Regions from separate parts of the Homo sapiens genome. Here region 1 is linked to region 2. Evidence: promoter capture Hi-C in human tissues and cell types (Jung and others, 2019). All regions are on one chromosome and are shown on one strand. Each heading gives the region's core, a stretch centred on a gene start or on the middle of the fragment in contact. The rest is flanking DNA. Distances are from core to core; before and after follow the strand shown.

Region 1 (6,374 bases), core at 2,597-5,096, 230 kb after region 2:
ATGTACCAGTTAGCCGGTTAATATACAGACAGTCATCCATCACTTAAGTTCAGAGAAATACATCATTAGGCATTTTCATCGTTGCGTGAACATCATAGAGTGCACTTCCACAAACCTAGATGGTATAGCTTACTACACATTTAGGCTGTATGGTACGCTAAATTCATTTAAAAAAATAAAGTAATTGTGCTACGGTGTTATAACTACGGTGATGTCTGTATGTGGTGGGAATTTTTCAGCTCCATTATAATCTTATGGGACCACTGCCTTGACATGCAGCCCTTTGTTGACCAACATCATTATGCAGTGCATGACTGTTATGTGATGTATGAGGCACTAATATTTGTCAAATAGATAAGCCAGCGTAATTTAGTGTTTGATATTTACACTGATACTGTTGAGAAGAGGAAGTGCACACAGGTCTTTTTGTATTCTGTTTGATAAGTGATAAGAGTGGCTTTGCCTTTTTTTTTTTTTTTTTTGGTCGTTTTTAACTTCTATTTTACCTAAAAATCAGGTTATTGATTTAGATTAGCACAGATTTAATTTTGGAAAATGACTTACTATTCAAGATAAAGCAGTTTTATCCTGTGTACTGTGGAAATGTAGGGAGAAATTACTTATCAGTTTACCTAATTTCTTTTTTGGATAGGTATTGGTGGATTTATGGTGCGGCAAAGAAGTCGAACTGGGCAAGGGAAAACCAAAAGATCTGTGATCAGAAAAGATTCCTCAGGCTCTATTTCCGAGCAGTTACCTTGCAGAGATGATGGTATAGTACTGACTTAAAAAAAAATTTTTTTTTTAATGTAACCCTTTGGTCTTGATATTTCTATTGGAAAAAACTATCCTAAATAATGTTACAGTCAATAAGAGCCTTATTGCCTCTTATTGTTACTCAATAAGAGTCTTATTGCCTTTTATTGATGAAAGGATTTGAGTGCGTATAGAGTTCATATCTGTAATACAGTAATCAGGTTTTATAAGGAAATGGTTTAAATCCAATAGACTTTATTCTTTTGAGATTTTTTGACAAGCTCTTTTTTCCTGTATCAAATTATTAAATATATTTTCTATATTTAAATATAAATGGTTTAGGGACTGAATAACTTAGTTACATAAGGTACTTTCTGGTCATCTCCAAAGCCTTTCTTTGACTGCCTTAGCTACTTATCATATAATTTGAAATTCTCAAGTGACAGTGCACCTCAGTTTTTATCTATTTATGTATCTGTCTGTCTATCTATCTATCTATCTATCTATCTATCTATCTATCTATCTATCTAGGGGTCTCACTATGTCACCCAGGTTGGCATGCAGTGGCACAATCATGGGTCACTGCAGCCTTGCACTCCTGAGCTCAGGTAGTTCTCCTGTCCTCAACCTCTGATGTAGCTGGAGACCACAGGCACACACCACCATGCCTAGCTAATTTTTTGGCTTTTTGCAAAGACAGGGTCTCACTTTGTTGCCCAGGCTGGCCTGCAACTCCTGTGCTCAAGCGATCCTCCTGCCTCAGCCTCCCAAAGTGCTGGGATTACAAATGTGAGCCCAGCTGATATCTAAAAAAAATTTTGTTTTTGAGACAGTCTTCCTCTGTTACCCAGGCTGGAGTGCTGTGGTGCCGTCTCAGCTCACTGCAACCTTCACCTCCCGAGTCCAAGCAATTCTCGTGCGTCAGCGTCCCAAGTGGCTGGGATTACAGGCGTGAACCACTGCATCCAGCCAGGAGTTGTTTTTTTTTTTTGCTATTGGTGGTGAGCAGGAGGTGGCAAGTGATGGTTTGTGTGAAGGTGTATTTCTTATTAAACTGACCCTGAGCTTTATGCAAGTCACCTCTGGCCTGTCTGCCTTGGAGAGAGGCCTTAAGCTTTGTCTTCTATTCCCTATTCCTCGCAATGCTCTGAAAATTGGAGTTTGAGGTCATTGGATTTCAGCAAATTTCGGAGAGCTTTTACTTTTTTGCTTACTTCTGTGGTTCCTTATTTATCTTAATTTTTGTTTTTCATGGATTCCTTATGTTCTGGCTAGGTTACTGGTGCCTTTAAAAAGATTGTTGTAAAAAATGTTTGTCTATTTCTAGTTTTCAGAAGAGTCAATTCACTTACGTAGTCTGGTGGTAGAGTGCCCATATTGATTTTCAGAAGGGATGTGCCATTTGCCCTGCCATTATGAAGCATCTGAGAATATCATTTGATTGTTTATTTGTCAAATTTAAGCTGTGTTCTTGTTTCTTTGCTAGTTTCATAGTCCCCAAATTTATTTCCATTTCTGATTTCAAGAATAAGTGTTCATTGCATATTTATTAGCATATTCATCGTCATGTTTTCACAATGTGTATATCCTACAAATAATTTATAATAAATTTCTGAACTTGGAATTGCTGTATTAAAGGACACACTTTTTCTTTAAGGTTTTTGTTGAGTATTCTCAATACACCCTACAAAAAAGTTACACCCACAGAATTTCTCTTAATAGTTTATAAGTTGCCATTTCGTCATACTCATGAGCTTTGGGTATTTATTATTATTATTATTATTATTTTACTCTTTAACAAAATATGTTTAAATAAATACGTTTTTGCTTTGTAATCGATTATTAAGAAAATAGGAAAAATGCTAATACTAAGTAGACATGAAATCAAAATTTTATGGCACTTAAAAGTAACAAACTTGATTTGAGATTTTTTTGTTCAAAAAGCTTGTTTGTTTATATGAAACTGTGTGTATGTTGGTAAGGTATAAAATTACCTTCAGTGGGTTTGTCTAGAAATTTTAAATGTCACATATTTATAAATGTGACTGTTGTTTCAGGCTGGAGTGAGCAGTTACCAGATACTTTAGTTGATGAATCTGTTTCTGTTACTGAAAGCACTGAAAAAATAAAGAAGAGATACCGAAAAAGGAAAAATAAGCTTGAAGAAACTTTCCCTGCCTATTTACAAGTAATATTTTGCTTTACATTATTTTACATGGTTTGTTAATTGAGGAAATAAAATGTATTGAGTTTTAAAACATAGGTTTGTTGTTTTTGTTAATGTTTTACTTGTTTTGTTGTCATTTAGTCATCATAAATGCCATTTTTACCTTTCAGGGGTCCATAAAAATTAAATTTACTTTTTTTGTGTGCTTTGATACTTGTCATAAATTGCTTTTTTAATACCAGTTGTTCACTTCTAAGCATTCTATAAGATGTAACAAGGACACTTTGGGATAGGAAAAACTCAATCTTCCAAGTCATTGATAGCTATGTATACCCCACACCCAAGTTCTGTTGAAATTTCCTTTGCCAATACAAGTTACATTAATTATATTCATTGATTAAAGATAGGCTTTTCAGCCAAAGTTATAGCTTTAATAATCGTTACCACTTTTAGAGGCCTGGAGAACCAAAGATTTAAGCAGTATTCTTTTTGTTTTCCAAAATACACATCAGAAAAATACCTTTCAGTACGAATAAATTATGTTTGATAGATGTAGACTACAAAAAAAATTTTTTTCTAGTTCATCTTGTAAACATTAAGTCAGAGTTTAAGGCCATGTGATACGGAAACAGCTCAATATTAGAAATTGTACTGAGATTAAATATCTGGCTCTGCATCTAACTAATTGTAAATTCCTAAGCGTGTTATTCATCCTTCCTGGCCTCTATTTCTTCATGTGTTAAAATTGAACTGGAACAGACTATCATTGAGAGGCCATCCTCATTTCATTGTAGACAACTATTCATCTGATCTGTTCCTCCTAAGAAACTATGGCTTACACAGATAACCCTTCATTGCCTGAGTTGCATTTATTTTTTACATCAATTTTCCAGTTAGGTATTACTAGTTTAATTGGTTTTAAAATACATTGCCTTTCAACTAGCATACAACTTCCTCAATTTTCTTTTTTGTAGCTACTAACATCTTAATGGCAGTATTCATGTTAGAGCTCAGCCTATAAAGTCAGGATTTAAACACCATTCCACTACCAGTTAGCTGTGTGATTTTGTTCTGTTTAACATCTCTTGTGTCTCGGTTTCCTCATTTGTGACATAGTGGTGCCTCTCAGAAATGCTCAGAAGTTCAGTGAGAGTATGTATGTAAAGTGCCTAGCCTGTGCCTTACTTTTTGTATATCCTTCATACATGTTTTTCCCCTCAATCTCTTATATCCTAGGTTTGCACCTTTGTTTTTTTTTAAACGATCATTTAATTGGTCAGGAAAAAAAATCCATTTATAGGTTGGCTTACCTTTTTTTTTTTTTTTTTTTTTTTTTTCATCTTTGTTGTTGTTTTCTCCTGGGATTCCCTTTACCTCCCTTCTTAATAGTCCTTTCTAGGAATATTGTGATGGCAACCTACTTTTCCTCCTATTGATCCTTCTGTAAAGTGTAATATAAATTTAAGAAGCTTTCTTTAGGTGTTTCTGCAAGTATGAAAACTAGCCATTTAATACTTTGGCAAAAGAGTCTTTAAAATTATTAGGTCTAATTTCCCAATTACTGCTGTGATCTTAGTCTCCTGGGCCGTCTTGTTCCCCTGTTGCACATCAGTAACTTTCAGCGTGTGTGTGTGTGTGTGTGTGTGTGTGTGTGTGTGTGTCTGTGTCTGTATGTGTGACATGAGGGAGGCCTTTTTAATGGTAGTTTTCTTGGACTTTTAGAGACGATATGGATGGAGCCCCCTCTTTATGTTATCTACAGGGAATGTAAAACACACTAAATTAATAAGGGTGACACAGTTTTTGATAAACACCAGTAAAGTCATGAGTCATTAGACAGAATTCTTGCTGATGATGGTGTAAGATTTCTCAGATTTATACTGAAGGCATTAAATAAATGACCTCTAAACTTCTAAAACGCTTTCTGCTGTTCATCATTTTTTCTAATGATAAAAGCATTGCTTATTATAAGAAATGAATCCTCTTCTACCTGGTATTCTAGTTTTGTGAATTTTTAGATTTTTCATAGTGAGATGACTTTTTCATTTAAAATGTGAACATTTCAAATCAGATATATCATTGCCTCCACCAGACTTCACACACTCCCAATCTCTTTTCTCAAAGGGTAGTATTGTTAATAATTTGGCATTTGTCCTTCAGAAACTTTTTTATAATTTATTTTTGCAAACTTATAATAGTCTTGATTTGAACTTTCTAATTTTTTTTTGAGACAGCCTCACTCTGTCACTGAGGCTGGAATGCAGTGATGTGATCTCAGCTCACTGCAACCTCTGCCTTCTGGGTTCAAGTGATTCTCGTGCCTCAGCCTTCCAGGTAGCTGGGATTACAGGCATGTTGGCGCATGCCTGGCTAATTTTTGTGTTTTGTGTAGAGTCAAGAGTTTTGCCATGTTGCCCAGGCTGGTCTCTAACTCCTGGGCCTAAGTGAACCACCTACCTCGGCCTCCCAAAATGCTGGGATTACAGGCGTGAGCTACTGCGCCCGACCTGTATTTTATAATTTACTGTATGTGTAATTCAACTTACTTTCTTTTAGTAATGTATTTTAGGGCTTTTTCTTTGATAACATAGAACTATATACTTTTAAAAAATTGTTGTATTTTGTAATATAAGTGTCTATAATTTGGATAGTTCTATGCCTGTTGATAGACATTAAGGCCATTTTTACTTCTTGACATTACAAAATATGCTACAGTGAACTTTTTTGTGCATGTTTGGCAAGAATGTGTTAAATGTTGTATTGCAAAATTGTCCTGTATGGAGGATCCTTTTTCCAGATAGACTACATCATAGGATATAGACTAAAGCAGAGTTCCTGGGTTGAAGCAGGGTAAAGGGGTGGAACTGTGCTTCCCTTTTGTCTTTGGTATTGATTTTTGAGAAATTTTGGAGAGATCTTGGAGTTGCAAGGAACCCAGCTTGAAAGTATATTGAAATGGAAAAATGTTAATATGCCTAAATAAATAGAAAACCACAAGCCTTTAGTAGCTGTAAATATTGCACACATAGTATGGCTAAACTGACTATAAAACCGTCTTTCAGATTGATGATGTAAGTAGTCTTATAGTGTAAGTGTGGTTATATGAATCAATAGATTACAAATCTACCTGAAGTAAATATTAAAGCCGTAGATCAAAGTCTTATGCTGTCCTCTGCAAGTAATCTATAAAAATTAATAATACTCATGAAGCTATTCTGCAGTTTCTAGAAACCTTTGGTATAATTGTGTGGTTTTATTTCCATAATTTTGTCTCTAGTAAAGCTACCAAAAAATCTTATTTTTAAAATAAGGAGAATCTATATAAAATAATTGACAGGATATTTCTATTTTTTAATACTTCTGTATTCAGTTTCTATATTGTTAAATATAAACCTTTTCTGTTATTTCTGCTTCCTTGTCAAAAACCATGACAGAATAATCTATTGTCTTT
Region 2 (6,137 bases), core at 201-2,700:
AAATGGTTGATAGGTCTTACTATTTCCCCCCATTCAAATCTAGAATTTTTTCACTCTCATAAACTAATCGATAGTGAATGGAAAGCACAGAATAGATCATCGTCCAAGTGTTAGGTATTAGCCTGAGAAATCCAGAATCCCATATTTGTAACTGTCCTTCTTGAGAAAGTGCATTTTTCAGGCGGATTCTAGCCCCATTTTTCTTTTTACCATTTTTACATATTATGAGAGGTGGCTTAGAAGTACTTCGATTTTTGCCTCTTCATCACAACACACTGAACGTTAAAATCAAGTGGTTGGGTTTTTATTGGCTTATTTTGTCTCTAACCGTTTTATTTCTCGAGCTGTCATCGTTCTTTTCGTCTTACATCCTTATGAACCTTTTCTGGATTAAAAAAAATGACGTTATAATAAGGAAACTAACTGGCGTTGGATTCGAACGAAGTTGACTCCATTCCTTTTCCTCCCCGTAGTGTGGGCGCTACGAGGAAAGACCTCGGCGAGAACCAGCGAAGCCCGGGCTGCCCTCGCCGTGCGGGCGCACATTTGCTCCTCGCGCCGGGCTGCGCCGGGCGACCGCGGCCGCCTCGGCGTGTGTCCGCGGCTCCCTCCCGCCCTCGCCCGCAGTTCCCCGATCCCGATCCCGGATCTCTGGGTCCACAGCTTGGCTACCTCCCGAGCCGGAGCCGGAGCCGGAGCCGGAGTCGCGGCTGGGCCCGGCCGCCGCGTCACAGGGGGAGGGAACCCGGGGGGGAGGGGGAGGGGCGGTGAGGTCAGCGGCGGCGGCGCGTCCGCGGGCGGCGGGAGCGGCGCATGCGCGGAGCGAGGCCCGTGAGTGGCAGCGGCGGCGCGCGGGGGGCGGGCGAGGGGCCGAGTGTGGGGGAGCGGGCGGGGGCCGTCGAGGCGGCGGTGTGTGGGCGCGACGGCTGCGAGTTGGAGAGGTCTGTGGTGCGGGTCGCCCCGGGGGATCCCCGGCGCGGGCCTCGCGCGACGGCCACGGTCGCGCGGCGTGTGTGTGGGGTCCAAGCACACCCGCAAAACTTCCTCCTCCCCTGCTCCGGGAGAGCGAGCGAGCGTGTGTGAGAGAGCGAGTGTGAGGAGCGAGCCGCGGCCCGGCGCCCAGCGCCGCCACTGGAGCAGCTGTCAAAACTTCGCCGCCGCCGCCGCCCGGGCCTGACGGGCCTGACGCGCGGGGGAGGGGCGGCCGGCCGGGGGCGCGACCCCCTCGCCGCCCCCGCCGGGCCCCGCGGCCGGCCCTCCCCGCGCCGGGCCCCTTTCTCCTCCTGCCGCGGGCGGCTCGGGGGAGGGGCCGCGGGCGGAGACCCCGGGGGCCGGCGCCCCTCACGCCGCCCGCCCGCCCGGCTGCCCCGCCCGCCCGCACCCGCCGGCCCCGCCCGCCCCGCACCGCCCGCCCCGCCCGCCGCCCCCCGCCCGGCCCCTGCGCGCGGAGGTGCGCGCGCCCGCGCCGATGTGTGTGAGTGCGTGTCCTGCTCGCTCCATGTTGCCGCCTCTCCCGGTACCTGCTGCTGCTCCCGGGGCTGCGGGAAATGCGAGAGGCTGAGCCGGGGAGGAGGAACCCGAGCAGCAGCGGCGGCGGCGGCGGCCGCGGCGGCGGGAGCCCCCCAGGAGGAGGACCGGGATCCATGTGTCTTTCCTGGTGACTAGGATGTCGTCGGAGGAGGACAAGAGCGTGGAGCAGCCGCAGCCGCCGCCACCACCCCCCGAGGAGCCTGGAGCCCCGGCCCCGAGCCCCGCAGCCGCAGACAAAAGACCTCGGGGCCGGCCTCGCAAAGATGGCGCTTCCCCTTTCCAGAGAGCCAGAAAGAAGTAAGTTGAGTGCGAGGGAGCCAGGCCGGGAGCCAGCGGCGGCGCCGGGCCGGAGCTGTCACCGGGCGCCCGCCCCGCGGCCTCCGCGCCCCGGCGCCCCCCGGCGGGGTGGGGGCGGGGCGGGCCCGCGGGCGGTGGCGGCTCCCGGCCCCGGCCCCGCGCCCCTCGGTAGCCGCCCGCGCCCGGCCTCCCCCGCTCCGCGCCGCCCGCCCGGGCTCCCGCCGGCGCCCGGCTCCGCACACTTTACTTTTCAGTCGGGCCTTTTCACTGGGTCTTCTCCGCGACTCTTCTTTTGGAGAAATTTCTCGTAGCCGCGTCTTGGCCTAGCTGGATCATTGAGAAAACAAGCCCGGAGCGCGCCCAGGTAGTCCCCGGACGGACTCCGGGCGAACCGCCGAGCCGTCGGCGCTCGGGAAACTCTCGGAGCTGTCAAAACGCCCGGGCCAGGTGGTCTCGGGGCGCGGGCTGGGGGCGAGAAGAAAGCGGCCGGGCGAGTGCAGCTTTTGTTTGTCAGCGACTTGCTCCTGGAACTTTTCCTGGTCCCAAACCTGTGTTTTCTTCTTTTGATGATATATTAGGAAGCCATTTGACTTCTTCCTCCCCCCTCCCCCAACACCCAGCACCGCACTCCCGGGCTCCGAAAGCACAAGTCCTGTGGGATCCCCCAGCTTCGGGGAACGGCCTGCCTAAGTTTTGGAGACGTAGCCAGCGTCCCCTCGTAAGGCAGAATACCAAGAGCACTTATTCGGAGAGAGTGCAGATGTAAATGTCGCTTCCCTCGTAAGTCTTAGCTGTAAGGGGCTTGGGAATAGGGTCGCCTGCCTTTGAGCGTACAGTAGGGCTGGACCCCAGCTTATTAGAGGACCAGAAATGTCTTCTTACAGAACGGTTATTTGACGGCTTTGCTTGTAAATTAAGACACCGTTTTAGTGCCAGCGAACTGCTCGGCTTCTGTGGCTCTCGCGTGTGCCGTGGAAGAACTGTGAATGTCTCTCGAAGTTGTAGAATGGCGTGTGTGCTTACTCATTTCGTGAGATGATATTCTCATTGAACTGTCGGGAGTGGAAGGGTGCGCTGGGACGTGAAGGAAGCCAGCACGTTTATGGATAGGCTGTTTCTTTGGTTCGGGTGCATTCACTTAGTAATAGTATTGTTGTTTGGTGATTTGTAGTAAAAATAGTAGCGTGAACTGAGGCATAGCAGAGCTGGGTTGTGGGAACCCATTGAGCTCTTGACTTGAATGTGCTCTTTTCTTGCCCCGCTGTCCTTTTACTATGAAAATGATTCAGGGCCTTCAACTTGCCTCCATATTTTATTGCCAGCTGTTACCTAGCTATGATAATCGTGAGGGAAGCAAGTACAGGATGTGTGTACATTATTACATTAGCTTGTTCGTGATACAAAGTTAGGACTTATTTATTATGCCACTTGCGTTGTAATACAGTGGCAAGTATAAAATGCCCTTATTCTGTATTAACTGAAATTTGTAGAAGGAAGTGGAGGTTTAAGTAATTTTTAGACATGTAAGCCACTTTTTTTTGCATCCTTTAAAGCAACTCAGGACAAGCCATATTGGGGTTTTACCTTGATTGCCTCCCATTTCACTATTTGCAAAGCATTTCTTCATCTCTTACTGAACATTAATTTGCAAGTATTGTTTTAAATTTGCATTTGAATTCTTACTCCAGAAAGATTAGATCTATGTTGTCACACCCCACACCCCATACTCCTGTAAGGGCGTGCTTGTGCACGCGCACACGCGCACACTCACACGCACGCGCACACTCGCACACACCCTACTTTTGAAATGAGCTCATTTGTATTAGTGCAGCTCCTGAGTGCACTGGACGATTAGGGTATTGCCACTTTATTATTTTAATTCTGAATCTCATGAAGAAATAGGCAGCCTTTGGAGAAGATAAAAAATTTCTGCTGAATAACAGTATAATCTAACTATGAAAAATCAAAACTTTTGGAAATATTTAGAACAAATGTAAGTCTGTAGAGAGCTTTTTCTTTTAGATTTGAAAACTAGTACTGCTTTCTTTATAGGAAATTAAAGTCTACTGGTAAATTTGACGGGTCTAAACTTTTTAGAGCGTTTTTTTTGAAATTGTGTCTTTTGAAGGGAATGGAATCTCCAGTTGTTTTTAGCAACATGTAAATGGAAACTAACATATGAATTGGAAAGCAAAGAGGTTTTTGAATTGTGTATCTCTATACTGTATAAGAATCCATGCAGAAAAGACCCTGTAGTTGGACAGTAAAGACCCTGAAAGTGAAACTTATGTGTAACCAGTGTAAATTAGGTTTGTAACCAGTGAAATTATGTGAAATTGCAAATAATTCACCTGAGAAATGAAAATTAATCTTCTTTGCTAAATCTCATAGAGATATTTTAAGTTGCTAATGTTACTTAGATGTTCATTAACTTAGTGAGTTACATTAAGTAGAGAAGATGCCTTTTTTTTTTTTTTCTGGACGAAGTCTTGCTCTGTAGCCCAGGCTGTAGTGCAGTGGTATGATCTCGGCTCACCGCAACCTCTGCCTCGTGTATTCAAGCGATTCTCCTTCCTCAGCCTCCAGAGTAGCTGGGATTACAGGTGTGCGCCATCGCACCTAGCTAATTTTTTGTATTTTTAGTAGACACAGGGTTTCACCATGTTGGCCAGGCTGGTCTTGAACCCCCGACCTCAGGTAATCCACTCTCCTCAGCCTCCCAAAGTGCCAGGATTACAGGCGTGAGCCACCGCACCCCGCTGAGAAGATGCCTTTTGACAATGAAGTGGATTTATGTATTTATCTTTGGCTTAAAAAAACATGCACCACCAATTACACTTTCCTCAAGTTTAAATTTTTAATAATTAGGTAAATAAAGCATTTTCTTGTCTTATAGTGTTAGCTAGATTGTTTTTGTGTATTTTGTCATGAATAAAAAGCATAGCTATATAGTTACTGCTTTTACATTAACTATAAATATCTTAAAATTTTACTACCTAAAATCAAGAAACTTGAACTGAAGCTATTAATCTTAGAGTTGGAAAAGTAAATACATAGAGGTTTCCTATTGTACAAATGTCAAGTGGCACAGTGAAATTTACATTCATTTGAAAGTTTTCCTTAACTGTAAAAAGTATCAAATTATTTGATAATTTGGAGTAGTTCATCATCTTTATCAGAGGCACAGGTCTTAACCATTGGCAGGCCTCTGTCAGAATATGCACATATTAAAGATCTCATTATTTTTGTGTTAATGTTAAAAAATTTTTCTGAAGCTTTTTTCTTATTTTTTCCATCCTTACACTGTAAATTCACATTACCAAGTTGGGAAGCCAAAGAAACATTCTACTCTACTATGTTTCTTACCAGTTCATGAAAGTTGATGTTAGAAATGGGTGTGGGTGTGGGGGATGGGGGTGGTTGTACAGAAGCAGCAGGTGGTAGGTATAGGATTTCTGAAGCACTATCCTTGGCCTTTTTTGAGTAAACTCTTTATACCCTGAACCACTTTCTTTTCAGAGGGCAATTGCTATTATTAGAGAGCCACCTTAAGCATTATTGTTGTAGAAAAATTAGGCACAACCAGTGATTGTCATTACAAGGACCAGCAAAAATGGCTAGGTTGCTACTCTGTATTTGTAACGCCCTTCCCCCAACAAAATTTCTCCTTTTCATAGCTGTGAATTTGAAATAAGTGATAGAAAACTGTACTGCATTACAATATATACCATTTAATAAAACAAGTTTATAGTTGAGAGACAGCACTATTATTCATGCTTTTTGAGATAATGCAAATTTGTAATTTTTATGACAGCAATTCTTAATAATTTATTGTCCAAGAGATCTGATAAAATTTTTGATATTATTGGTCTCTGGGACTCAATAGGCACTGAAATGTTTTAATTCAGTTGAAAAGTTGACTCAGGATTGCTACCCTCTCTTACCTGTTAGGAGGTTGTTGTTTAACCTGACCTGAAATTCCCATGAATAAGAACCTGTTTTTTTTCTTTTTTTTTTTTTTTGACAGAGTCTTGCTCTGCCGCCCAGGCTGGAGTGCAGTGGTGCGATCTTGGCTCGCTGCAACTTCCGCCTCCCAGGTTCAAGTGATTCTCCTGTCTCAGCCTCCCAAGTAGCTGGAGTAGCTGGGACTGCAGGCACGTACTACCATGCCTGACTAATTTTTGTATTTTTAGTAGAGACGGGGTTTCACCCTGTTAGCCAGGATGGTCTCAATCTCTTGACCTCATGATCTGCCTGCCTGGGCCTCCCAAAGTGCTGGGATTACAGACATGAAACACCGCACCTGGCCC

The links. The method cuts DNA at HindIII sites, captures the fragments that hold promoters and counts their contacts. A contact is called where the count stands out against the background at its distance.
Region 1: a fragment that was not itself captured here is called in contact with the fragment with the promoter of KMT2C in region 2 in 1 of the 25 tissues and cell types used here (aorta).

The regions. Positions count from the first base shown.
Region 1 is chr7:152,199,504-152,205,877 of GRCh38, reverse strand. KMT2C (lysine methyltransferase 2C) reads left to right here. Exons shown (of 59, transcript NM_170606.3): 25 at 653-772; 26 at 2,814-2,944. Among named protein-coding and RNA genes, the nearest start is that of GALNT11, 180 kb to the right of the region's middle. The HindIII fragment of the contact is 3,122 bases long and covers 2,286-5,407 here.
Region 2 is chr7:152,431,316-152,437,452 of GRCh38, reverse strand. KMT2C (lysine methyltransferase 2C) reads left to right here and starts at 1,450. Exons shown (of 59, transcript NM_170606.3): 1 at 1,450-1,827. The coding sequence starts at 1,667. It also overlaps the pseudogene FABP5P3. RefSeq lists silencers at 434-773, 814-1,103, 1,194-1,243, 1,624-1,683 and enhancers at 2,164-2,393, 2,434-2,483, 2,954-3,023, 3,334-3,383. The HindIII fragment of the contact is 14,314 bases long and covers 1-6,137 here.